4 separate regions of the Homo sapiens genome follow, and all the other regions are linked to region 1. The links are contacts of gene promoters, found by promoter capture Hi-C in blood cells and fetal thymus (Javierre and others, 2016). All regions are on one chromosome and are shown on one strand. The core of a region is centred on a gene start or on the middle of the fragment in contact, and the rest is flanking DNA. Distances in the headings are between cores, read along the strand shown.

Evidence for each region. The method cuts DNA at HindIII sites, captures the fragments that hold promoters and counts their contacts. A CHiCAGO score of 5 or more calls a contact.
Region 2: a fragment that was not itself captured here is called in contact with the fragment with the promoter of INPP5B in region 1 in 3 of 17 cell types (total B cells, M0 macrophages and naive B cells); the score reaches 6.4 in total B cells.
Region 3: a fragment that was not itself captured here is called in contact with the fragment with the promoter of INPP5B in region 1 in 3 of 17 cell types (endothelial precursors, activated CD4 T cells and total B cells); the score reaches 6.6 in endothelial precursors.
Region 4: a contact is called between a fragment that was not itself captured here and the fragment with the promoter of INPP5B in region 1, in 1 of 17 cell types (neutrophils). The highest score is 6.9, in neutrophils.

The regions. Positions count from the first base shown.
Region 1 is chr1:37,945,709-37,948,379 of GRCh38, forward strand. INPP5B (inositol polyphosphate-5-phosphatase B) reads right to left here and starts at 1,345. Exons shown (of 24, transcript NM_005540.3): 1 at 1,282-1,345; 2 at 544-626; 3 at 48-142. The coding sequence starts at 600. It also overlaps a transcript of LOC105378651 not described here. RefSeq lists enhancers at 1,167-1,696, 1,274-1,513. The HindIII fragment of the contact is 11,910 bases long and covers 1-2,522 here.
Region 2 is chr1:38,861,246-38,863,916 of GRCh38, forward strand. MYCBP (MYC binding protein) reads right to left here. Exons shown (of 5, transcript NM_012333.5): 5 at 1,248-2,671. All of the region lies in intron 1 of RRAGC-DT (RRAGC divergent transcript), which reads left to right. GJA9-MYCBP (GJA9-MYCBP readthrough) reads right to left here. Exons shown (of 3, transcript NR_037637.1): 3 at 1,245-2,671. Among named protein-coding and RNA genes, the nearest start is that of RRAGC-DT, 2.7 kb to the left of the region's middle. The HindIII fragment of the contact is 316 bases long and covers 1,139-1,454 here.
Region 3 is chr1:38,842,227-38,844,897 of GRCh38, forward strand. The region is part of intron 6 of RRAGC (Ras related GTP binding C); the gene reads right to left. Among named protein-coding and RNA genes, the nearest start is that of RRAGC, 16 kb to the right of the region's middle. The HindIII fragment of the contact is 4,730 bases long and covers 1-2,671 here.
Region 4 is chr1:38,823,940-38,826,610 of GRCh38, forward strand. No RefSeq gene overlaps it. Among named protein-coding and RNA genes, the nearest start is that of RRAGC, 34 kb to the right of the region's middle. The HindIII fragment of the contact is 6,603 bases long and covers 1-2,671 here.

The DNA of each region.
Region 1 (2,671 bases), core at 95-2,594:
GAACAACCCCATGGCCCAGACAGGTGGGGACCAAGCCCCTCACTCACGCGTGTTCCTGGCCGCCGTGCTCCAGGCGGTAGCGCACGAGTCCCAGGAGGCGGCTCTGCCGGCTGTCCCCCTCACACAGCACACCTTGCACCGCCTGCGGCTCAGAGTCAAGGGAAGACAACCCAGAGGCGAGGCCTCTCCCCACCCAGGCTGTCCCACCTTCCCTCTGTTCCCCTGCCCCCCCAGATTCACTGTGTGGCCTTGGGTGAGCACTCAAACCATGTGCTGAACTAACAGACAAACAGGCTCTCTAAGCCTTCCTTATCTATGAAATGAGGATAATAATCCCCAACTTCATAGGGAGTTAGGAGGATAACTGCGTATTTAAAGCATTTGGCTGAGAGTCCAGGACTCAGTAAGTACTTAGTAAATACTGATTTCCTTCTCCCCTGATGGTTCAGAGGGGCAGGAGAGGGGATAGACACCTCGACACCTTCCATTCCTCTTCCCAAGGCCAGGGCAGGCTCAGGGCCGCAGTTAGCACAGGAAGGATATGATGACGCAGTATTCCCCCTCAGCCAGCGTCTCCTGGATTGCCACAGACTGGTCCATGCTGGCCCCTGCTGAGCGCACACACCCTGTGGGAGGGGAGATAGGAGCCCCGCTTTGGTCAACAAGTTACGCATGGGGTGGTGGAGCTGCCTCAGAGGGGTTGGGGGCAGGAGGGAGGGGCCTTTGCAGAGGGAGATGGTACCGGGGAGGCCTGATCCTCCTCCTCCTCCTCTTTGTCCTCCCTAGAATAGGCCTTTCAGTTTTTAGGGATAGGGGTCCAGTCCCTTTGCCCCGCTGGGATCTACAGTTTGCTATACTGCCTTTGTCTGGGAGGGCATCCAGTTGCTCTTGAGTGTGGTCTATCCTTGTTGGAAGTGGGGTACGTGGATTGGAGAAGGGGACCTAGTCCCTTTGCTCCTAGGACATGGCTCTTCCTCTCTTTTGGGGACAGTTTTTGTTCTGCTAGCGCCTCTCTGGGAGGTGTCAGTGGTGTGTCCATGTGGGGTTCAGGGAACATCCCCTTACTGTCATTCAGGAGGGTCCCATTCCTCTTTCCTTGGAGACAGGAAGTGTCCCATTGCTGCTTGCCCTTCACCCCCGCCCCAGCAGGCCCATTGCATCAGCTGCAGGCCGGGGGTTGGGGGGTGTCCCAGCCCTCAGCTTGCCCACTCCCTCCTGCCCAGCCCTGCCCTGGCTTTCCTGCTCTGCTCCCACCCACAGCTCCCTGACATTGTCACCTACCTCCTGAGCTGTCACCACAGGGCGCACGGGACTCCGCTGCCCCAGGTTCCGGGACAGTGACTACATTTCCCAACAGCCCCTGCGCCACATGGTGGTCAGTCAGCCTGCAAGTCCCAGCATGCCCGAGTCAATCGTGGGGTGGGGAGTCTCTCCATCCGTGTTAACCCCTTAGGCCCTGGGGTACACTGGGCTTCCTATACCAGAAAGGTTTTCTAATGATTGCCCTCACTCCCATCCCCAGCCCTCTAGGTCATGGGGCCAGAGCTTCCCACCCAGAAGGAAGATGGTCACATTTTATCTTAGGGGAAGAATATAATGCATTTTTATTTTCTCCTTAGTTCCATCCTCAGCTCTTCTCACTCCAGGGTAGACAACCCGGACCTCTACTGAAACTCTTCCCCTAAAATAACTACCTTCTCCTGGTTTAATGGAGGGAGAACCAGACTATGAAGAACCATTATGTCCATTTTCCAGGTGGAGAAACTGAGCCTTGGATAGGTTAAGCAGTTTGACATTAAGTCCTGCAGCTAGCAGGTGGCAACACTGGGACTCCACTGAAAGTCTGACTGCAACTCCTGGGCCATTTATACCGCTACACACTGCCCTATTTCCTCCCTTAGCCCCACCCAGCCCTCCTGCCACACAGGGCTGTTTGAGGCTACTGGGTGTGAACGCACTTTATAAAGGGTATGACACTGTTCCTGTCCGGCAACGTCCTTCCCCTGATCCGCCTGGCTTTGTGACCTTGGCCAAGACCTTTCTTCCCTTGGGACTCAATTTCCCCATCTAAGATAAGGAGGTTACCCAAGATGGACAAAAAGAGCCAGCACAGGGACTGGGCACAGTGGCTCATGTCTGTAATCCCGGCACTTTGGAAGGCCAAGGAGGGAGGATCGCTTGAGGCCAGGAGTTTGAGACCCCATCTCTAAAAAAAAATTTTTTTAAATTTAGCCGGGTATGGTGGTGCATGCCTGTAGTCCCAGCTACTTGGGAGGCTGAGGTGGGAGGATTGCTTGAGCCCAGGAGTTCAAGGCTGCAGTGAGCTGTGATTGCTCACCCAGCTCAGATAAGGAATGCTAGGATCATTCTCACTTGGCCTATTGGCTGTTTAATTAAGCTGTAAGCTCCCGTTGGACAGGACTATGCCTTTTCATCAACATACCAGCAGTTTCTGGCACACAGTTATCTATGGAGTTAGTGAATTACTTTCTGAACTATTTTAATAAATACACCTTCTCTCAAGCTTTGGCCCAAACTGAAGGAATGGGCCTTCAGTGCTGGGGAGGGGGTGACTGTTGTGACTTGTGAACAGTTTCCCTTCCTCTTTCCCCAAGTGAAGTGGCCATCCTAATGACCAGTTCAACTTTGCATATGTAAACCCCTTCCAGAA
Region 2 (2,671 bases), core at 47-2,546, 920 kb after region 1:
CGGGCGCCTGTAGTCCCAGCTACTCGGGAGGCTGAGGCAGGAGAATGGCTTGAACCCAGGAGGCGGAGCTTGCAGTGAGCCGAGATCGCGCCACCGCACTCCAGCCTTGGCGACAGAGCGAGACTCCGTCTCAAAAAAAAAAAAAAGTCTTAAAGCCAAACCACACTCCCTGAAGCCTATAATAGAATAAAATAGGAATAGTCTTCACCTTTTTCATGACAGCCCTTCAAATACCAGATTGCAGTATTCATTACCCACTAAGTCTTCTCTGTTCCTTGCTGAACATCCTCAGTTTCAACCATTCCTATCGTGCTGTTCAATACAACTGATATACATGATAGACATGTTCTTTATCTGCACTGTCAAACATGTAGCCGCTAGTCCTATGAGGAATAAGCACTTGAATTGTTGCTAGTGTAACTGAGGAATTTTTTTTTTTTTTTTTTTTTTTTTTTTTGAGATGGAGTCTCGCTCTGTCGCCAGGCTGGAGTGCAGTGGCGCGATCTCAGCTCACTGCAACCTCTACCTCCCGGGTTCAAGCGATTCTCCTGCCTCAGCCTCCTGAGTAGCTGGGACTACAGGTGCCCACCACCACACCCGGCTAATTTTTTTATTTTTAGTACAGACGGGGTTCCACCATGTTGGCCAGGATGGTTTCTATCTCTTGACCTCAAGATCCACCCTCCATGGCCTCCCAAAATGCTGAGATTACAGGTGTGAGCCACGGCACCCCACCAGGAACTTAAATTTTTAACTGCCACTTGCAGCTAGTGTGTACCAAATCGGAGAGCCCAGCCTTATATATTCAAATCCTCTATTGGTCACTCTTTATATGCATTCCAGCTTGTCAATATCCATCAAACATCTGACTCCTACAAAGCAATACTAAACAGTACAACTTTCAGAATGACCATTTAACACCTAGACAGTATTTCTATTCCTGCTTTCCAGAATGTAATTTTTTTTAAGCATCCATAGGGTGGGTCACATTGATAATCACTGTAACTAATACTTTGTCAGCAATCCTAGTGCCTAAATGTGTATAACTGCATTTTTTAACCTAAATGTAAGACTTGATACTTCAACTTTTTGGTTTAGGCCCAGCAGTTTGGGTATTCCACGTGGTTAATCATTTTAAAGCTTGTTTCAATATAGTCTTCCAACCAGACTTTCCAATTTGTGTCACTTACAGATTTGGCACTACCACCATCTGGTCTGTATGTAATCCTTTACAGTTTGCAAGGCACTTTTACATCCATTATATTTAATTTGATTCTTACAACCAACTTGTGAGATAGGCAAGATGTGAAGTCGATATTTTATAGACAAAGCAGCTGAAGCATAATAGGAGCTTAACTGGTGGGATCCATTTATCCATTTTCTCTTCCATGGAGCATCTTGTTGTATTCATCCAAATCCTTGACAGAAATGTTGAAGAGGACCTCTAGAGGCTAAGCTTATCCTGAATTCTTAAATAGCACTGACTGTTACAGTTTAAGCAAGTCAGTTTCACCTAAAAGTGTGATTATCCAACCCACATGTTGCCTTTCTGTTCAAAAAGGATGGTACCAAAGACAGTCACAGTCACCTGGCTTACTGACATAAATATTAATACTAATCAAATGAGTAAAAAGCCCATGAGGATTGGCTGCCACAAAAAATTTTCAACCTGTATCTACCAAGAAACTATCATACCAACTAAGGAAGCCAAGTCTCTCTCTCTTTCAAAACCCTCACGGGGCCATGCTTTATTATAATGGTCTGCCACAGGTCCTAACCCACACTGTATTTGATTATATACAGTCTCATAATTAAGTCATTCCTCTTTATCACACCCAGCACTTAGTCCACTGCTGCCCATGTAGGAGGCACTCAAATTGGTAAAAGAGAAATCTATGCAAGGGAATGATCTTCTGGACCCCCTCCAAAAACAAACTTGTGACTAGAAGAGGCACCAGCCATAGCCACATTCCTACTAACAGGGCTGATTTAAATGCCCTTTTTATTGGCTTGGTCATAGTCTCCAACAGGTGCCAAGGCTTTTGCTAGTTAAACCAGTTTTCATTGGATCATTTTGTTTTCTATGTGTGTTTTGACCAAAAACAAAGATAGGTTCTCTAACAACAGGGAGAGAATATATGAAATAGGAATATGTCTATAAAACGACAGTCTACCAGTAAGGAAAATAAGTGATCCATAAAACAAAACATCTGACTGTAGGTCTACCCAAAGAAAGGAAAAAGGACTAACAAACAAGAATATAGTGCTTTACCATTTACAAATCTTTCACATACATTCTCATTTGACCCTCACAACAACCCTGTGAGGTAGGCATCACGGACATTCTACTCATTAAACAGATGAAGACAGTAAATCTCAGAGTAGTTCACTGATAATGCCCAAGGCTCTACAGTTAGTGAGTGATTTGTATTAATATCAGTCTTTGGCCTAAAAATTCAGCACCCCTCTTCCCCTTATACTTGTCCCACCTACTTCACAGGGATAATGAAGATAAAATGAATTCAAGGCTAGAAAAATACTTTGAGGGAGAAAAGCACTATATAATTATACCTACAAACTATGATTTTCCCCAATATATGGCTCATTCCTCTTCTCATCTCAGCTTGTGTGTGAACCCAGAGTTGTATATTGCCTCTGTCCTGTGCTCAGT
Region 3 (2,671 bases), core at 110-2,609, 900 kb after region 1:
GCACCACTGCACTCCAGCCTGGGTGACAGAGCGAGACTCTATCTCAAAAAAATAAATAAACAAATAAACTAACATAGAGAAAAATAAGGAACTGCTAAGAATCAGTGCAAAAAAAGATAAATATATATGGAACAGGTAAAATGTGAAAGAAGAAACCTGAATAGCCATGAAAAGGTACTTGCCATGAAAAGACACTTGCTCTAACCAGTAATTTAAAAAGTAAAAATGAGAATCAAATAAGATACCCTTTCACACCTACCAGATTGACAATAATTAAACAGTCTAACAATACCAAGCATTATTAAGGACAAGAAGTGATAAGAACTTCCACAGACCGGTGCCAGCCAGGGATGAAAATAGTAAAGTCACTTTGGAGAGCTGTTTGGCAATCTCTTTATTAGTCAAAAGATATAGGTACTCTATAAATTCCACTCCTAAAGGCATACCCTAGAGAAATTCTCCACACGTGCAAAGGCAAACTTAAACTTGTTCATGAGCATTTGTTACAGATTTGAAATTTTTAAAATAATCCAAATGTCCAGCAACAAGAAAATAAAATGTGGTATAGTCAACCTGTAGAATACTATATGGCAGCGAAAAGGAATGAACTAGAACTACGTGTCATCAATCTGAATAAATCTCAAAAACCACCTGAAGGAAAAGAATCAAGCAAGTTGCAGAAGACTACTTATATTTTTATATCATTTATACAATACTCTATTGTTTAAGGATAGACATGAAGTGAAAAAATAAGAAAAATAAAATACACATAGCTCAAAGGAAGGGATTTCAATTGAGAAAAACACACAGAAGACTTCAGCTGGCCAGGCAGTTGGCTCTCATCTATAATCCCGGCACTTTGGAAGGCTGAAGGAAGAGGACTGCTTGAGGCAACGAGTTCAAGACCAGTCTGGGCAAGAGAGAGAGATCCTATCTCTACAAAATATTTTAAAATTAGCCAGTATCCTGTAGCATGAGCCTATAATCCCAGCTACTCAGGAGGCTGAGGTGGGAGGATCTCTTGAGCCCACGAGTTTGAGGCTACAGTGAATTATGATCATGTTGGGGCAATGGAGTAAGATTCTGTCTCTTAAAAAAAAAAAAAGATTTTAACTGTATTTGTCATTTTAGTTCTTAAGCTGAAAGGTGAAGATACATGTTTTGATTTACCCAAAAATTTGTGTATATCTGAACTATTCCATTAAAAATTCAGGCCGGGCGCAGTGGCTCACTCCTGCAATCCCAGCACTTTGGGAGGCCGAGGCAGGCAGATCACGAGGTCAGGAGATTGAGACCATCCTGGCTAACGCAGTGAAACCCCGCCTCTACTAAAAATACAAAAAAGTAGCCGGGCGTGGTGGCAGGCATGTGTAGTCCCAGCTACTCGGGAGGGTGAGGCAGGAGAATGATGTGAACCCGGGAGGCGGAGCTTGCAGTGAGCCGAGATTGCGCCACTGCACTCCAGCCTAGGCAACAGAGCGAGACTGTCTCAAAAAAAAAAAAAAAACTCAGGTAGAAGAGGAAGGACTTGTTGCAGTAAATAACAGAGCTACTGTAGATCCTTGAGTAGTTAAATAATATAAAATAAATTTTCTGAAAACTAATCTGCCTTTGGGATAAAAGATGACACATACTACACCCTCCACATATATGTCAACTACATGAATATTATCAAGTAAGAGACTACTGCAGCACCACTGGCCTGAAGCAATGAGAACCTGGAGTGGAATCACTGACAGTGAAAATGGAAAGGAAACCCAAGTAACAGTTACAAGAAACAAATGATCAGATTTGGTGAAAATTCAATATAAACAACATAGAAGAATAGAAAAAGGAGATCACGAAATCTCCTCTGTGAACCAATCTGCAAGGGCCCCTTCAGCAATCACACCACACAATTACCTAACTACAAGGTATCTACACTTGGACAGGAGAAACTCGCGTAACTAGTGACAGAAGTATGACAGCCACGAGAGTCACAAAACAGGGGAAATACTCATCAACCAATGATTGACATGACGTTGAAGGTAACATTCACAATATTTAAGAGAGAACGTCTTACTAATAGCTCCAAACATGGGACGAGAGCATGATCCCAAGTCATAGCTGGAGATGTGAATTTTTCAATCACATAGAGAAGATTAACTGAAGCCATGTATTTGATGAGCTGACCTAGAAAATACGCAAGCAGAAAGACTTGGCTCTGACAAACAGGACTGAGGAAAAAAAAAAAAAAAACAGAAGAAACAGGAGAGGTGGTCGGGAAAACAAACACACAAAATATCCCAAGAATTCAGCTTCAGAGAAGCAAAGAGAGAAGAAAGTTTTCAGAAAGGAGGGACTGACAAGATCACATGCTTAGAAGATTGAAAAGCCTGCAGAGTAAGAAAAGGCCACTGAATGCAGGAAGGAGGTAACCTGGTAACTTCCAAAAGTCTAGTTTCTATCATCAGAGTGAACAGGCAACCTACAGAATGGGAGAATATTTTTACAATCTACCCATCTGACAAACGGCTAATATCCAGAATCTACGAGGAACTTAAACAAATGTACAAGAAAAATACAACCCCATTAAAAAGTGGGCAAAGGATATGAACAGCCACTTCTCAAAAGAAGACATTTATGCAGCCAACGAATATATGAAAAAAAGCTCATCACCACTGGTCATTAG
Region 4 (2,671 bases), core at 70-2,569, 880 kb after region 1:
GAGGCCGAGGCAGGTGGATCACGAGGTCAGGAGTTCAAGACCAGCCTGGCCAACATGGTGAAACCCCATCTCTACTAAAAAAAAAAAAAAAAAAAAAAAAATTAGCTGGGCATGGTGGCGTGTGCCTGTAATCCCAGCTACTCAGGAGGCTAAGACAGGAGAATTGCTTGAACTGGGACCTGGGAGGCGGAGGTCACAATGAGCCGAGATGGTGCCACTGCACTCCAGCCTGGGCTACAGAGCAAGACTCCATCTCAAAAAAAACAAAAAAAAAAAAAAAAGAAAATTCCTCAGCATAAACATGCGAGGTTAAAAAGCATTTTTCCCCATTGGTAAAGATGATAAGATGAAGCAGAGGGTCAGAGAAACTGGGTAATGCACTCGAGCTAAGGAATTTAGTAAGTGGAAGAGCTGGAGTTTGAGTCCAAATCTACCTTAACTCCAGTGCCCAAGCTCTTAACCATGATTCTGTTCCATGACCAAAGGCATTTTGGAATCTCTGATATACTGAACACGGGATGTTAACTTCTGGCTCTACTGCTCGCTGCAGAGCAGTTGTGTGACCTTGAGTTTGTCACTTTGCCTCTCTGGGTCATCTGCCTGCCTCACAGAGTGGTGGTGACGCTCTCAGAGGTAAAGGCTGAGACTGCTCTTCCTAATGAGTAAATGAAACTGTACAAATGGAAAAGGCAATCAAAATGAGCTTTACTATCAGGAACAGGATGGCACAGCAGTTAACATCTGGGAAGCAGCAGCAGCAACTGCAAAAAGGAATGGCTTTTGAGAAATGCCAGGGAAGCAGGCTGTATTTGAGCCCACGCTCTGGGACAGCTACAAAGCAGAGAGGGTGTTTCCAGCTGCTATGGGCTCTTTAGGGAGCACCCAGGGACTGGAGAGATGCTGCTTGGGCTATGGGCTAAGAATAGGCCTTTGGTCCCATATAATCCTGCTGGTGGACAACCACACTTCTAGAGTCAGGGACCTGGACATTGATAAGGAGATCATTATTACTCTTAACATCAGCTGCAGAATCTTTTGTACTGAGACATAGCTGGCTGCTCACAGCACTTTGAACAGCTCTGACTTGCACTGACTCTGTGGAAGTGAAGATGCTATAAGGCAGGAAACTCTTCTCTACCTCCACTTTAATCCCTTCTGGAAAGATACAGGGCTCCATACATTCAAAAAATACAAGGAAATGAGGATCCACGCACAGCCTGTTGGGTTGTTCCAGGGAGGAATTCCTGCAGTGAGAAGGGGGTCTTCGTATCCTAGAACTTTTTTCAATCATCCAGCACAAAGCCTTCTAATGGGAGATAGAGACAGGCTTGGAGAGGGGACATAGATATTGTCTGGAAGAATCTAAGTCTTTGACTCCAACATGGTTCTGTTCACACTCTGTGTGTCTCCTATGATAAAGCCTAATCATTCATGGTCTCTAGCTCCCTGCATGCCCGTTGGGGCTGATGCGGTAGATACTTGTGGAGGGGCTAGAACCGGGTAGGTTTGGAGGCCAAGACAGAGCTAGGGTTCGTTCACCTGGGAAAGCAAAAGACACCAACTGCCAGAGGGGATCAAAGTCAGAGCACAACTCAAAGAGTCCAGAGCAAGGAGACAAGGTCCAGCGAGGCAGGTCAAGATCTAATGGGAAGCCTGAGTAATTGCGTGAAATGCCAGCCAGCATCTAGAGCTCACCTTTACGGCCAATGAGGACGTGACTCATGGCTTCCTCAGCCCTGTTCCAAAAGCTCTGGGTTGATGAAGGGTTAGAGTGAAGGGGGCAGCTTCTGTCACTGAGTACACAGGTGCCAACACTCTGCCCTCAACCGCCCACGGTGCCCTCTGAAAACCCTGGGCACTGTCTTCTCTGACTCCGACCCACTAATATCACAATTAGCTGGCAGAGGGAACTTTCTTCTTTTCTACTTTTTCCTAAGTCATTCAGGCGGAAGAGTCATTAATACTTCACAAGCAATGAAAAATCAAAAGGGGAAAACTATTTTTTGCTGTATTTTTTAAACATTTGGGTAGGGAAAGTCAGATGTCAAAAAAATCCCCATTTACCTCTTTTAAAATATGAGCAATTGATATTTTCCATGAAGGTTCATGCTCCCTTTCTTCATTCTGTTTGCAGGGTATTGTTAAGCCGTGCTTTGTAATTTGTTGCATGTTTAAATATTCAGTCTGTATTTCATTTGGGCTACACATTTAATTCAGCCAACATGTTCATTTTAAGATCAATACTGTCATAACTATGTTGAAAAATTAAATTATTGTAACTTTATTTACATTTCTTAAAAGTACTGTGAAAATTATTCTTAACCAGGACCTAATCAATGTTAGAGTCTAAAAATATGCCACTCTGCATGAAGCTATAAAAAGATTAATGTACATTTTTTACAAGAAATTAGTAGCTTAATGAAGTGGATAAAAACGCTGTCACAATTTTTATTGGATCTAAATTGCATAGTAGTGGAGGTACAGTAAGTGCCTTCTACATAATGACATAATGAGTCATGACTGGTGCTGGAAGGCTAATTTGCCCTTAACTGACACAAAACCAGGGAATTAACATCCCAGTCGCTCTACGCCAATAGCAGATGCATTATTTCATTGCACAGCAGGGTTTTTAACTAAACTCTTAACTGTAGAAATATTGATCTATTCTTCT